Regions from separate parts of the Homo sapiens genome. Here all the other regions are linked to region 3. Evidence: promoter capture Hi-C in human tissues and cell types (Jung and others, 2019). All regions are on one chromosome and are shown on one strand. Each heading gives the region's core, a stretch centred on a gene start or on the middle of the fragment in contact. The rest is flanking DNA. Distances are from core to core; before and after follow the strand shown. Region 1 overlaps CLUAP1 (clusterin associated protein 1). Region 2 has its middle 13 kb from the start of SLX4. Region 3 holds the start of PKMYT1 (protein kinase, membrane associated tyrosine/threonine 1). Region 4 holds the start of CCNF (cyclin F). Region 5 overlaps NLRC3 (NLR family CARD domain containing 3).

Evidence for each region. The method cuts DNA at HindIII sites, captures the fragments that hold promoters and counts their contacts. A contact is called where the count stands out against the background at its distance.
Region 1: a fragment that was not itself captured here is called in contact with the fragment with the promoter of PKMYT1 in region 3 in 1 of the 25 tissues and cell types used here (spleen).
Region 2: a contact is called between a fragment that was not itself captured here and the fragment with the promoter of PKMYT1 in region 3, in 1 of the 25 tissues and cell types used here (lymphoblastoid cells).
Region 4: a contact is called between the fragment with the promoter of CCNF here and the fragment with the promoter of PKMYT1 in region 3, in 2 of the 25 tissues and cell types used here (lymphoblastoid cells and spleen).
Region 5: a contact is called between a fragment that was not itself captured here and the fragment with the promoter of PKMYT1 in region 3, in 1 of the 25 tissues and cell types used here (spleen).

The regions. Positions count from the first base shown.
Region 1 is chr16:3,509,933-3,512,632 of GRCh38, reverse strand. It overlaps CLUAP1 (clusterin associated protein 1), which reads right to left. Exons shown (of 12, transcript NM_015041.3): 5 at 155-250. Among named protein-coding and RNA genes, the nearest start is that of CLUAP1, 10 kb to the right of the region's middle. RefSeq lists an enhancer at 2,659-2,700. The HindIII fragment of the contact is 6,420 bases long and covers 1-2,700 here.
Region 2 is chr16:3,623,095-3,625,794 of GRCh38, reverse strand. It overlaps a transcript of DNASE1 not described here. Among named protein-coding and RNA genes, the nearest start is that of SLX4, 13 kb to the right of the region's middle. The HindIII fragment of the contact is 6,693 bases long and covers 1-2,700 here.
Region 3 is chr16:2,979,115-2,981,814 of GRCh38, reverse strand. It overlaps PKMYT1 (protein kinase, membrane associated tyrosine/threonine 1), which reads left to right and starts at 1,369. Exons shown (of 9, transcript NM_004203.5): 1 at 1,369-1,529; 2 at 1,903-2,167. The coding sequence starts at 2,158. RefSeq lists enhancers at 50-926, 927-1,802, 1,803-2,679 and silencers at 1,036-1,395, 1,406-1,635. The HindIII fragment of the contact is 14,611 bases long and covers 1-2,700 here.
Region 4 is chr16:2,428,136-2,430,835 of GRCh38, reverse strand. It overlaps CCNF (cyclin F), which reads right to left and starts at 1,389. Exons shown (of 17, transcript NM_001761.3): 1 at 1,339-1,389. The coding sequence starts at 1,354. RefSeq lists silencers at 1,014-1,063, 1,074-1,923 and enhancers at 2,134-2,313, 1,749-2,328. The HindIII fragment of the contact is 14,340 bases long and covers 1-2,700 here.
Region 5 is chr16:3,560,666-3,563,365 of GRCh38, reverse strand. NLRC3 (NLR family CARD domain containing 3) reads left to right here. Exons shown (of 20, transcript NM_178844.4): 5 at 1-357; 6 at 1,578-1,664. Among named protein-coding and RNA genes, the nearest start is that of NLRC3, 15 kb to the left of the region's middle. RefSeq lists an enhancer at 1,004-1,504. The HindIII fragment of the contact is 5,808 bases long and covers 1-2,700 here.

The sequences.
Region 1 (2,700 bases), core at 34-2,533, 530 kb before region 3:
AAGGACAGCTAATATCCTCTATCACCTTTCCACACATTAGCTCATTCAACCAGGTGTATTTCATTAAATCAGAACTGAAAAGGGAGAAACAGAATTGAAAAAGAAAACCTTGAAGAGAAAATCTGCATGGTTAAGGAAGTACTGGAATGCTTACCCTCAACTCTACTTCCATGCCGAGCAAGTCATACAGAGATGCTCCTTTGGAGGTGATTTCAGACGCAAGCTGCCTGGCTGCCTTCAAATCTGCAATCTGGAAGGAAAATAACAAAAACAGAAACCTCAGCAACAGATGTTTTTTAATAGAGACAGGGTCTTGGCTATGTTACCCAGGCTGCTCTCTAACTCCTGGCCTCAAGTGACCCTCCGACCTCAGCCTCCCAAAGTGTTGGGATTATAGGCAGAACCACCATGTTCAGCCAGCCACAGATTTTTTTTTTTTTTTTTTTGAGACGGAGTTTCGTTCTTGTTGCCTAGGCTGGAGTGTGATAGCGCGATCTCGGCTCACCGCAATCTCCACCTCCCAGGTTCAAGTAATTTTCCTGCCTCAGCCTCCCAAGTGGCTGGGATTACAGGCATGTGCCACCACGCCCGGCTAATTTTGTATTTTTAGTAGAGACAGGATTTCTACATGTTGGTCAGGCTGCTCTTGAATTCCTGACCTCAGGTGATCCACCCACCTCGGCCTCCCAAAGTGCTGGGATCACAGGCGTGAGCCACCGTGCCCGGCCAGCCACAGATTTTTAACATGCATTCAACCACTAGCCTGTTCATGTCAGCTCCTACCTTTGGTTGGGACACGTGACCACAAACATGTGCTTCCCCAGTTACATGCTCACAGGCTGCGGGACACACGCTCAGGAAATGATCATCTAAGTACTAAAGAGACCAATTCCAGGACGCCTGGGTCTCTCCAAAAAACCTAATGTCACCTCAAACTGAAGCCACAACCAGGAGGGCATAGCTGGGAGAAAGCTGACGTGCTTCCTACTTGGACTTTGTCACAGTAGGGTGCCTGACGGCAGCAGAGCGGCCACACAAAGGGACAGCCTGAGGGACACACATCCTCTTGCAGCAGCCTGACGTCCTGTGTTTCGTCCTCCCCTGCCCTCCTTCTCTGCCTCAGACTTTCCTCCACAGGCTTGGAGAGGCGCAAATCGGGTGGCACCCACTAAGGACTTACAATGGTTCTGGGCTCCACAGATGGGCAGCTGTTGCCAGGAAGGTGATGACAACCACAATGAGGATTTAGCACTGAGCCCTGTGCACAGGCTTCTTTCTTAGGATGTGTGTGTCACCCCTTCTTCCTAGAATATGCTAACTCTTCTAAGGAGCCCAAACATAAACGTCTCCCTGCTCTGCTCACTCTCCCTCTCTCCTGGACAACCAATCCTCACCTTCTGGCTCTCATTTTCAACCCACTAGCAACAACTCTCCCTCTTCATTTGCAGCTGATGGCTTTGATAGCTTGCTTCCCTCTTCCTTAGTCCTCCAGGATCCAGCCTGCTCTGGCTCTAGCTGCTTTTCTTCCCTTCCGAGCAGCACATCCCCAAACTTCTTTGCAGGAGTCTGTCACCTTCTCTGCTTCTCAAAAGTGGAGCGAGTCAGAGTTTCATTCCTGGACCCCCCGTCTTTTCTGCTGGCTCTGCTCCTACCCTCAAGGCTTTAATACCATCTGTGTGCTGATTGCTCCCCAGCTCCCAGCTCCAGCCTGGGCTTTCCCTGGGCTCTAGTTTCACATACCAGCTACCTGTGCACCATCTCCACCTGGACAGCCAATCGGCGTGGCAAATGGAGCATGTGCAGAACCTTCTCTGCTTCAGTACATGGCAACTTCATCCTTCCAGGGGCTCACACAAAAAACTTCAGAGCAGTGATGTCTAATATAGTAACCAATAGCCACATGTGGCCATTTTCACTTAAATTACTTAAGAATTAAAGAAAATGCAGAACTCAACTCAGTTCCTCAGTTGTGCTTGCCACATGTGGCCAGTGGTTCCCGTAGAGTACAGCACAGAGGCGGAACACACCCATGAGCTCTGCAAGCTCTGCCGCACGGCTGCCCCAAGACCCGGCCTGTAGCACCTGACTTACTCTCAACCCATGCCTCATCCCGTGAGATCTACCATCAAAATATGCCCCAATCTCTAGACACTTCTCTTGCTGACGAGTGTCGCTCCTGGTTAAAAACCCACATGTGAGGACAGGCGCGGTGGCTCACGCCTATAATCCCAGCACTACGGGAGGCCGAGGCAGGCAGATCACCTGAGGTCAGGAGTTTGAGACTAGCTGGCCAACATGGTGAAACCCCATCTCTGCTAAAAAAAAAAAAAAAAATACAAAGCCGGGTGCGGTGGCTCACGCCTGTAATCCTAGCACTTTGGGAGGCTGAGGCGGGCAGATCACCTGAGGTCAGGAGTTCGAGACTAGCCTGACCAACATGGAGAAACCCTGACTCTACTACAAGTAAAAAATTAGCTGGGTGTGGTGGCGCATGCCTGTAATCTCAGCTACTCAGGAGGCTGAGGCAGAAGAATCACTTGAACCTGGGAGGCAGAGGTTGCAGTGAGCTGAGATTGTGCCATTGCACTCCAGCCTGGGCAACAAGAGTGAAACTCCATCTCAAAAAAAAAAAAAAAAAATTAGCTGGGCATGGTGGTGTGTACCTGTAATCCCAGCTACTTAGGAGGCTGAGGCAGAAGA
Region 2 (2,700 bases), core at 4-2,503, 640 kb before region 3:
TTATAAAGGTTCTTAATTTTAATGTCACATAATTTGTCACTTCTTTATGGTTAGTGGTTTGTGTCCCTGTTTAAGAATTTTTTGCCTACCCCAAAGTCATGAAGATTCCCTCCTATGCCTTTTTTAGCACCTTTATTCTATATTGGCCGTTTCATTTATTTATTTATTTTTTGACACAGGGTCTTGCTCTGTTGCCCAGGCTGGAGTGCAGAAAGGCGATTATGATTCACTGCAGCCTCGACCTCCTGGGCTCAAGCGATCCCATTTCAGCCTACTGAATAGCTGGGAGTAGAGGCATGTGCTACCATGCTGGCTAATTTTATTTAAACAATTTTTTTTTTGCAGCGATGGGTCTCACTACACAGCCCAGGCTGGCCTTGAACCATGGGCTCAGGCAATTCTCCCTTCTCAGTCTCCCAAGTTTCAGAGACTACAAGAATATAACATCATGCCTAGCCCCATTAGTTTGTTTTATTGTTTTTTGTTTTGGAGACAGAGTCTCACTCTGTTGCCCAGGCTGGAATGCAGTGGTACGATCTCGGCTCACTGTAACCCCTGCCTCCAGGGCTCAAGCAATTCTCCTGCCTCAGCCTCCCAAGTAGCTGGGATTACAGGCATGCACCACCACACCTGGCTAACTTTTGTATTTTAGTAGAGACGGGGTTTCACCATGTTGGCCAGGCTGGTCTTGAACTCCCAACCTCAGGTGATCCGCCCGCCTAGGCCTCCCAAAGTGCTGGGATTACAGGAGTGAGCCACTGCCCCCGGCCCCCATTAAGTTTTAATAAGAAAAACTGCAGGCTGGGCATGATGGCTCACACCTGTAATCTCAGACTGTGAGAGGCTGGGGCAAGCAAATCACTTGAGCCCAGTTCGAGACGAGCCTGGGCAACATGGCAAAACCCTATCTCTACTAAAAATAAAAAATAAAATAAAAAATTAGCCAGGTGTGCTGGAAGAAACCTATATTCTCAGCTACAGAAATAGAATACAGGCTGAGGTGGGAGGACTGTTTGAGCCTGGGAGGCAGAGGATGCAGTGACCCAAGTTCCCACTACTGCACTCCAGCCTGGGTGACGACAAAGTAAGACTCCATCTCAAAAAACAAGAAAAGAAAAATTGATTGCAAAAAAATTGTTACACAATGTTTGCTGGTTTGGGCCACCACTGGGAATGGCTTTGCCTGTCTAGATGTTCGGATGCTGAGCACAGTCCACCCAGTTGGACTGCTCCAGGTATAGTACACAGTGGCTGCTAGATTCAGGGTCTTATGGGAACAGCTTCAGCCACTGTGAACTCAGCCAGGGGCGGCAAGGGCATTCTGAAGGTTTAGAGCTCGGCATAAGGGACGCTAACCCAGTGCCTAGAGCACCACCAGGTGCCTTACGCAGCTGGCCAATAACAATTTTAATGTAAAAATAAAAACTCTAGAAGAAAACATGCAGAAAATTACTTTATAATCTCAAAGTAGAGAAGACCTTGCTAACCAAGGACACAAAAGCCACTAACCTTTTTTTTTTTTTTTTGAGACAGAGTCTCACTCTGTCGCCCAGGCTGGAATGCAGTGGCACAGTCTAAGGTCACTGAAACCTCTGCCTCCCGGGTTCAAGCGATTCTCCTGCCTCAGCTTCCTGGGATTACAGGCGTGCACTACCGCGCCCAGCTGATTTTTGTATTTTTAGTAGAGACGGGGTTTCACCATGTTGGCCAGGCTGGTCTTGCACTCAAGTGATCCGCCTGCCTTAGCCTCCCAAAGTGCTGGGATTACAGGTAGTGAGCCACCGCACCTGGCCTCCATACTGTTTTCTATATAGAGGTTATAGTAATTTACAGTCCCATTAACAGCATATAAGCATTTCCTTTTCTGTGCATCCATGCCAACATCTGTTGTTTTTTGACTTTTTAATAATAGCCATTCTGACCAGTGTAAGATGATATCTCACTGTGGTTTTGATTTGCATTTCTCTGATGATTACTGATGTGAGCACTTTTTCATGTTTCTTTGCCGCTTGTATGTCTTCACTTGAGAAGTATGTGTTCTTGTCCTTTGCCTACTTTCTCTCTAATTCCTGGCCTCAAGTGATCCTCCTGCCTCAGCATCCCAAAGTCCTGGGATTACAGGTGTTAGCCACCACGCCCAGCCTTTGCTCACTTACTAATGGGTTTTTTTTTCTTGTTGAGATCCTTGGAGATACTACGTATTAGTCCTTTGCCAGAGGCTTAATTTGCAAATATTTTCTCCCATTCTATAGGTTGTCTATTTACTCTGTTATTTCTTTTGCTGTGTAGAAGTGTTTTCATTTAATTAAGTCCCATTTGCCTATTTTTCTTCTTGTTGCATTTGCTTTTGAGGTCTTAGTCATATATTCTTTGCCTAGGCTAATATCCAGAAGAGTTTTTCCTAGGGTTTCTTCTAAGATCTTTAGAGTTTCAGGTCTTATGTTTAAGTCTTTGAGTTAATTTTTGTATGCGGTGAGAGATAGAGGTACGGTTTCATTTTTCTATATATGGTTAGCCAATTTTCCCAGCGCTATTTATTGAATAGCGTGTCCTTCCCCCACTGCATATTTGTCAACTTTATTGAAGATCAGTTGGTTGCAGGCAAGTGGCATTACTTCTGGGTTCTCTATTCTGTCCCACTGATCTATGGTACAAAAATATGTACAAGTACCATGCTGTTTTAGTTACTGCATGAGTAGC
Region 3 (2,700 bases), core at 120-2,619:
CCAGCGTTTGGGGGAGGGTTGGCCGGAAGCGTACTCCTCCCACCCAGTTAAACAGATAAAGAGCCCCTCGGTGAGGGAAGGAACAATCCCTAGCCCGACTTGCTCCGCGAGGGCCCCTGCTAATCACTTTAGGGGATCATCCCAGCGTCCTCAGCTGTTTTTTTTTTTCCAGGAGAGGAGACTAATCCGAAGCTCAGAAAGGCTCAGTGCATTCCCAAGGTCGTTCAGCCAGGAGAGCGCTGAAGGGATCTGAGCTGAGAGCAAGTCTCAAACTCAGAGAATGGAGGAGCTGCCCCGGAAGTGGCTGCTCGAGGCTGCAGTGAACTATGATCCTGCGGCCAATCGCGGTGGCTCACGCCTGTAATCCCAGCCTTCTGGGAGGCCGAGGCGGGCGGATCGCTTGAGGTCAGAAGTTCGACACTAGCTTGGCCAACATGGTAAAACACCGTCTCTACAAAAAAATGCAAAAATTAGTTGGGTGTGGTGGCGCGCGCCTGTGGTCCCAGCTACTCAGGAGGCTGAGGTGGGAGGAACGCTTGAGCGGGGGAGGCGGAAGTTACAGTGAGTCGAGATCGCCCCACTGCACTCCAGCCTGGACAACAGAATGAGACCCTGTCTAAAAATAAAATACATGAGCCGAGTGCGGTGGCGCGCGCCTGTGATCTCACATACTCGGCAGGCTGAGGTTGGGAGAACCGCCTGAACCTGGGGACTGCACCACTGCATTCCAGCCTTGGTGACAGTGAGACCCTGTCTAAAAAAAAAAAAAAAAGTATCTGAGGCCTGTTGGCAGGGAAGCTGCAGGCAGGCGAGGTCAGGCCAAGCAGAGTCCTGCCTATCTGGAGAGCTTCCTGGAAGAGGCGGCTTTTTCTGGCTCCCGAAGCCGTGCGCTAGGGGTTGGGGGTCGTGCGTCTGGCCTCCCACCGCGACCCTGGTTCAGAACACGGCCGGAGTGAGAAGGGGGGTGCCGGGACCCAGGAGGCCGTAGGGACTTCCTGGTCCTACCCGGAGTAACCCTGGGGCTACGCCTGCTCCGAGCACCGGGATGGCGGTCCCTTTTATGGACCCAAACACTACGCCAGCCCAGCGAGGGCGGTGGGTGTCGGGTGCGAGGCCTGGAGGGCAGTGGGCGTCCCAGGGACTGGGCGGCTGAAGCCCCGCGCAGCGACTCAGAACCAGGCCGCCACCCACGCCCCGGGCCAGCGCGGAGAATCCTGTGCGCCTGCGCAGTGAGCGGCGGGGCGGCTCGGCGGCGCGCACGCAGCACGAGGGGCGGAGCCTCGGAGCCCGGGCACCCCTGACGGGCTGCACTGGGGAGGGGGAGGAGCCTCGAGGCCGGTTTGGAATTTTTGGCGCGAGCAGCTCCGCGCGCGTTCACGGGCCGTTCCCCCTCACGGGAGTCCTCCGCCCGGGCGTCCGGAACAGTCGACGGCAGACTCCGGCCCGCTGAGCCACCCGAGGGGTCCCGTGGCCTCCGCGGACCCGGAATCTGGGCCCTCGCGGACCCGCGCCCCGCCCAGTCGCCCCAGGTGAGCCCAGACCCCGCCGTGAGGGGCCTCGGCGTGGCCACCTCGCCGCTCCCCTCCGCCTCGCCAGGTCTGCGTTACCCCTGCCCCTCAGGCCTCCCCGGCGGCCCGCTCGCGTCCCCTCAGGCCCGCCCCCGCGAGCCCCTGCCTCCCGTCCTCCCCAATTCCTGGTTCCCTTGCCTCGAGCCCCTTCCCAGCGGCGGTCCCGCCCTACTCGCCCCTCCCGGAGACCCCGCCTGCTGTCCATCAACCCCGCGCCGCCGCCCTCCCCGTGACAGTCCTTCCTCCGTGACAGCCCCTGCCCCGGGACAGCCTCTCTTCTTCTGCAACAGCCCCTCTTCCCTCGTGACAGCCCGTCCACTGCTCTGTTCGCCAGGGCTTCCCCACACCCACGGAGTGAAGTCAGCCGCGGCCCTGCCTGGGAGGAACTTACCGTCTACCGGGAAAGGTGGCCAGCAGATGTGTCGGGCCTGGTGAGAGGGTGAGGCGAGACGGCCCGATCGCCCAGGGCCCCGGAAGCTGCGGAGGTCACCCCCGCCTGGCCTTAGCTCAGGGACACCCTGGATTCACGTGGGAGCCCCTGCTCCTGCCTCCCCCGTCCCACCACTGAGGCTGTTGGGCCAGGCCAGTCATGCTAGAACGTAAGTCGTAGGGCAGGGACGGTGGGAGAACTGGGTTAAGATGCACAGGCCCAGGTCCCCGAGTGTGCCAGGGTTGGGCCTGGAGGCTGTGCTTGTGACCAGTGACCTCCAGGATCCCAACACCCTGGCTCCTGACTTGGAGAAACCCTGGGCTGGGACTCTGAGGTAGTTAGAGTCAGAGGAAGAGTCTCCACAAGATGGAGGGCAGCCTGCCAGCCAGGCCCAGGTAGCATCGCTCCCCTCACCCCTGTACTCCCTCAGGTACTGGAGACTGCTCTTTTTAATTTTTTATTTACTATTATGTATATTTTTTTGAGATGGAGTTTTGCTCTTGTCGCCCAGTTGGAGTGCAATGCCGCAATCTCGGCTCACCGCAACTTCCACCTCCTGGGTTCAAGCATTTCTCCTGCCTCAGCCTCTGAGTAGCTGGGACTACAGGCATGCACCAGCACGCCCGGCAAAAATTTGTATCTTTAGTAGAGATGGGGTTTCACCATGTAGGCCAGGCTGGTCTCGAAGTCTTGACCTCAAGT
Region 4 (2,700 bases), core at 140-2,639, 550 kb after region 3:
CATGACAGGCAGGAAGGGGAAAAAGCTGCCGAAGCTGAGGACGGTTTTCCTTCTATTTCACTCTCAGGAAAACTCCTGGGGCCTTTGCTGGATAGCTTTGCTTTTTGCACACGTGACCAAGGTGCATAATGTTCAATAAAGATCTGTGGGCTTGAAGAGTCTGGTTTTCAAGTCCAAATTAGAAGGGTCGGCCCTGGAGAGAAGCCACAGACTTGGAGGCCGGGGCAGTGTGCGTCCAAGTCTCAGCTCTGCAGAGTCTCAGTGTGCCCTCTATTGTAGAATGCGGAGTTGACAGCTACGCAGTAAGGTTGTTGCTCAGGTCCCAACACAAACCTAGACCTGTAGGTTTGTGTACAGATGCAATCATTAAAGGTGAGACGGGCATTCCACCCACCAGGCAGGCAGCCCGGACATGCTTCTCAGATGTGCTCTCTCCTCTTCCCACAGCCGGATTTTCCAACTCCTACTCCAGCAACCCCTTCCTCACTCTAAGCAGATGACCTTAGCCCTTATTTCACAGGGAAACAGAAGCCCTCAGACAGGAACCTCAGGATCCTGCCTCCCCATCTACAAATCTACCTTTCTATCCATCCTTCCTTCCAGTCCTGAAAGGAAGCGCCACTCCCCTCTGTGGGCCCAAATCCCTCCCCGCCTTGCTAGGACTTCCTAGCGATTGCTCCCGGCTCCCCTCTCTTGACCGGGGTCTTCCTGTTAGCAATTAAATCAGCTGCAAAAGCCAAACGTATTCCAGGGCGACGAATTCTCAAAGATTCTATAGACCTCTCCATAAAATATTCCTCATTCTCCGGCTCCAGGACAGATACTATGATAATAGCTGAAACCACAGTTCGTGTTTCCTGTGCCTCAACGCGCGCGGGGCCGAACGCTGCTTTCCACAGAGCTAGGTCCACGGCCCCGCTGGACTGAGGCTCGGTCAGGGCCCGGCCGGGCTGCGGGATCGCTTCGCCCCCACGCGCTCCGCAGCCCTTTCCCCGACCAGGAGGCGCTGGTGTTTGGCTCCCCGAGACCCGATCGCCGCCCCGGGACCCGATCGCCGGATCGCTGCCCCGGGACCCGATCGTTGCCCCAGGAAAGGGCCGGAAAACGTCGCCGCGGGGGAAGGCTCCGAGGGGCTCGGGCGCCCGCCGGGCATTTAAACCGCGCGCCCGGCCGCCGGGGCTCCCTGCGCGGGACGCGACATCCGCCCCGGGTTAAAGAGCTCGAGCCAGCCCTCTTCAGGCCGCCAGGGCCTCCCCTCCCGCGGGACCCACCGTCCGCCCCGCAGGGCAGGCAGAAGGGGTGTGGGGCAGAAACCAGCGGACATCGCCCCGCACTCACCGCCGCCGCTCCCCATCGCCGCGCTCGCGTCGCTGCCGCCGGAGCCCGCCTGAGAGCGCGCCCGCGCCCCGGCCGGAGCGCGCGTAGCCCTCGCGCAGGCGCAGACCCCGCCCCGCCGCCCACCCCAGTTTTCAAACGCACCCGGCCCTCCCATTGGCCTGCCCGGGGGGGCCGCCGCCGGCCCCGCCCATGTCCCGCCCTGTGCTCGCCTCATTTACCGCCCTCCACGCCCTCCCCGCCTGCTCCGGGACCCGCCATTGGCCGCGCCAGGACGCGAATTCGAACATTGGCCGCTGATTGGTGGAACCCGCGTGGCCGCCCCGCCTCCCCAACGGGGCTGGGGTCCCGTAGGAGCGCTTCCCGGCCGGCGGGCAGGGGTTTGTGGGCGTCCCCTCCCGGCCGCATGGGTTCGGGCTTCGCCGCTGACCCCGGCGACCGGCATCTGCGGTGCCAGATGGGCTGCGAAGGCGCACGCCTGCGGCCAGGGGAAAGAGGACTCCTTGGCGTCCCTCGCAGTCGCGGCCGTGATCCAGCCTGGGACAGCCTCGACGTGGCGCTTCTAAGACGAGGCCGTGCCCTGCCCGGGTCCCGGGGTCGCTCCTGGGCCCGCGACCCTCACCCCCAGCTTGCACGGCCTTCCCTTCCGCCGCCTGCTTCAGGTGGAGACCCTTGGGTTTGTGGCTGAGCCGCTGCTGGGCGGGGATGCTGGCCGGGATCGTGGTAGAGAAAGAGGAGGTCGGAGCTGACGCTGGGAAGTCTCCCCCGCGGAACGCTGACCCCTTCTTCCCGCGAAACGTGGCGCACCCTGGACGCCTCAGTGCTCCAGCCCCGGGGCAAGCCCTCCCCATCACTTTGGCCAGATGCTGCCCCCTGTCTGGCCTCCTCGGCTGCTACCTGGAGCTGCTCGCCGCGGGAAGTGTCGTATCTGCTCACTCTTGTCTTGGGCAGTGCCCATCTGAGCTGTCCTTCAGGAGTCAGCCACACCGCACCCCTTTTACGGCACAGGCTGTCAAGGGGAAGACTCGCAGCCTCCTGACTGTCTGGTGGAGGACAGAGGGGGCTTTTCCTGGGGAAGGCAGGGGCCTGGGCCAAGGCTGCCCACCCCTCCCTCACGCTTCCCTCAGTCTGCACCCTTCCATCCTTCCGGGTCCCCATAGAACTCCTTCAAGTACTGGGCCTGCCCTGGGCACACAGACAGGAGCCCTGGCGTGCAGGCTTCAGCCGGCCTGGGGCAAGAGACAGAGTAAACAGGTGATCACAGCACAGGGTACAGAAGAGTCCGTGGCCCCAGAGAGGGTCTGGAAGTTGGGAATATTCCCTGTCCCGGAATCAGGAAGCGGGTGAAGGAGGGTGAAGAGAGGA
Region 5 (2,700 bases), core at 98-2,597, 580 kb before region 3:
GGTCAATGCCCTCCTGGCCGGCTCCCTGCTGGCCCAAGGCGAGCACCAGGCCTACCGGACCCAGGTGGCTGAGCTCCTGCAGGGCTGCCTGCGCCCCGATGCCGCAGTCTGTGCACGGGCCATCAACGTGTTGCACTGCCTGCATGAGCTGCAGCACACCGAGCTGGCCCGCAGCGTGGAGGAGGCCATGGAGAGCGGGGCCCTGGCCAGGCTGACTGGTCCCGCGCACCGCGCTGCCCTGGCCTACCTCCTGCAGGTGTCCGACGCCTGTGCCCAGGAGGCCAACCTGTCCCTGAGCCTCAGCCAGGGCGTCCTTCAGAGCCTGCTGCCCCAGCTGCTCTACTGCCGGAAGCTCAGGTGGATACCAGGGCAGGGGGCAGGGGCTGGGGAAGGGGCAGAGGAGAGAGCAGAAGCCGTCCCCTCCCCACCACCAAGCTTCTCTGTCAGTCTCCTAGGGCTGCCGTAACAGAGGACCATGAACTTGGTGGCTTAAAACAACTAAAGTGTGTTTTCTCGCAGTTCTGGAGGCCAGAAGTCTCAAATCAAGGTGCCAGGAGGGCCATGCGCTCTCTGAAACATATAGGAGAGGTTCTTTCCTTCCTCTCTAGCTTCCAGTGTTTGATGGGAACCCTTGGCTTAAGGCTGCGTTACTTCAGTCTCTCCCGTCGCCTGGTCATCTTCTCCCTGTGTCTGTCTCCACATGGTGCTGTCCTCTCTTTTTTTTTGAGATGGAGTCTTGCTCTGTCGCCCAGGCTGGAATACAGTGGCGCGATCTCAGCTCACTGCAAACGCTGCCTCCTGGGTTCAAGCGATTCTCCTGCCTCAGCCTCCCTAGTAGCTGGGATTACAGGTGCCCGCCATCATGCCTGGCTAATTTTTGTGTTTTTAGTAGAGACGGGGTTTCACCATGTTGGCCAGGCTGCTCTCAAACTCCTGACCTCAGGTGACCCGCCCACCCCAGCCTCCCAAATTGCTGGGATTACAGGCCTGAGCCACTGCACCTGGCCAGTGCTTTCTTGTCTTAAAAAGACACTGTCACACTGGATTACAGGCTCACCCCACTTCAGCATGGCCCCACCTTAACAAAGTACATCCACAGTGACCCCATTTCTCAATAAAGCCACATACTTGGGGCACAGGGGGTTAGGACTTCATATCTTTTGTGGGGACACAATTCAATTCATAACCCCCTCAGAACCATCCAGTCTGATAGAAGCTGCACACCCGCTGAATGCTTTCAGCCTGTCCCCTGCCCGCCACTCTGGACCTTAGTGAGTAGGGAGGAAAGGACACAGGCTGAGGGTCATCCAGGTGTCCCGCAGAGGCAGGCGGTATGTGGGGTGGTGAGGACGACAGCCCGTGGAAGATGCCGTTCTGCACAGGAACCGCAGGTCTCGTGGGCACCCAGCCTCCTGTTCACTCTCACGGGAAAGGTCTGAGCACTGGGGCTGAGCGCAGATCTCAGAGCTGCGGTGATAGCGCTGCATGGGATGGAGAGAGGCAGAGGCCCCGGGCCAGGGCCCCCACCCTGCCCGTGGGCGGGTGGGACACTCACTGTCACTGCTCCCCTTGGCCAGGCTGGACACCAACCAGTTCCAGGACCCCGTGATGGAGCTGCTGGGCAGCGTGCTGAGTGGGAAGGACTGTCGCATTCAGAAGATCAGGTAACACAGACCCAGGGGACCTCCAGGGTGCCTATGGTCTTGTGGGGTATGGAACCCTCTTCCCATCATCCTCTGCTCAGCTGGCCAGCGGCGCTGCCACGGAGAAGTGTCTTTGGAGCATGTGGCTCCAGATGCAGCCTGCTTGTTTCTGCCCAATTCCAGAAAGTGCTAGAGGCTCAGGTGCCTCATCAGTAGGAAGAGGGAGGTGACCTGGCGGGACTAGACACCGCTGTGCACAGGCAGGTGTTTCCACAGCACTACGTGTGCTGACATAATGCCAGGCACAATGTTCTCTAAGCACCTCTCCAAGTTTGCTGTCCAACAGCATTCTAGGCACAGGATTATAATTATCCCCCCCAGACAGTCTTGCTTTGTCACCCCAGCTGGAGTGTAGTGGCATGATCTCGGCTCATTGTAATCTCTGCCTCCCAGGCTCAAGCAGTTCTCTAACCCCAGCCTCCTGAGTAGCTGGGATTAGAGGGGCCCACCACACCTGGCTAATTTTTGTATTTTTAGTAGAGACAGGGTTTCACCATGTTAACCAGGCTGGCCTCGAACTCCTGACCTTGTGATCCGCCAGCCTTGGCCTCCCAAAGTGCTGGGATTACTGGCGTGAGCTACTGCACCCAGCCAATTGCATTTTTAATTAAAATTTTAAATTTCAAATTTAATTTAATTAAAATTTAATTTCAAATTTAATTTTAAATCAATTTAAACAATTTTTAATTAAAATTGCATCTTGTGGCCGGGTGTGGTGGCTCACCCCTGTAATCCCAGCACTTTGGGAGGCCGAAGCAGGTGGATCACGAGGTCAGGAAATCGAGACCATCCTGACTAACACGGTGAAACCCTGTCTCTACTAAAAATACAAAAAATTAGCCGGGCGTGGTGGTGGGCGCCTGTAGTCCCAGCTACTCAGGAGGCTGAGGCAGGAGAATGGCGTGAACCCAGGAGGCAGAGGTTGCAGTGAGCCGAGATCGCACCACTGCACTCCAGCGCCACTGCACTCCAGTCTGGGTGACAGAGTGAGACTCCG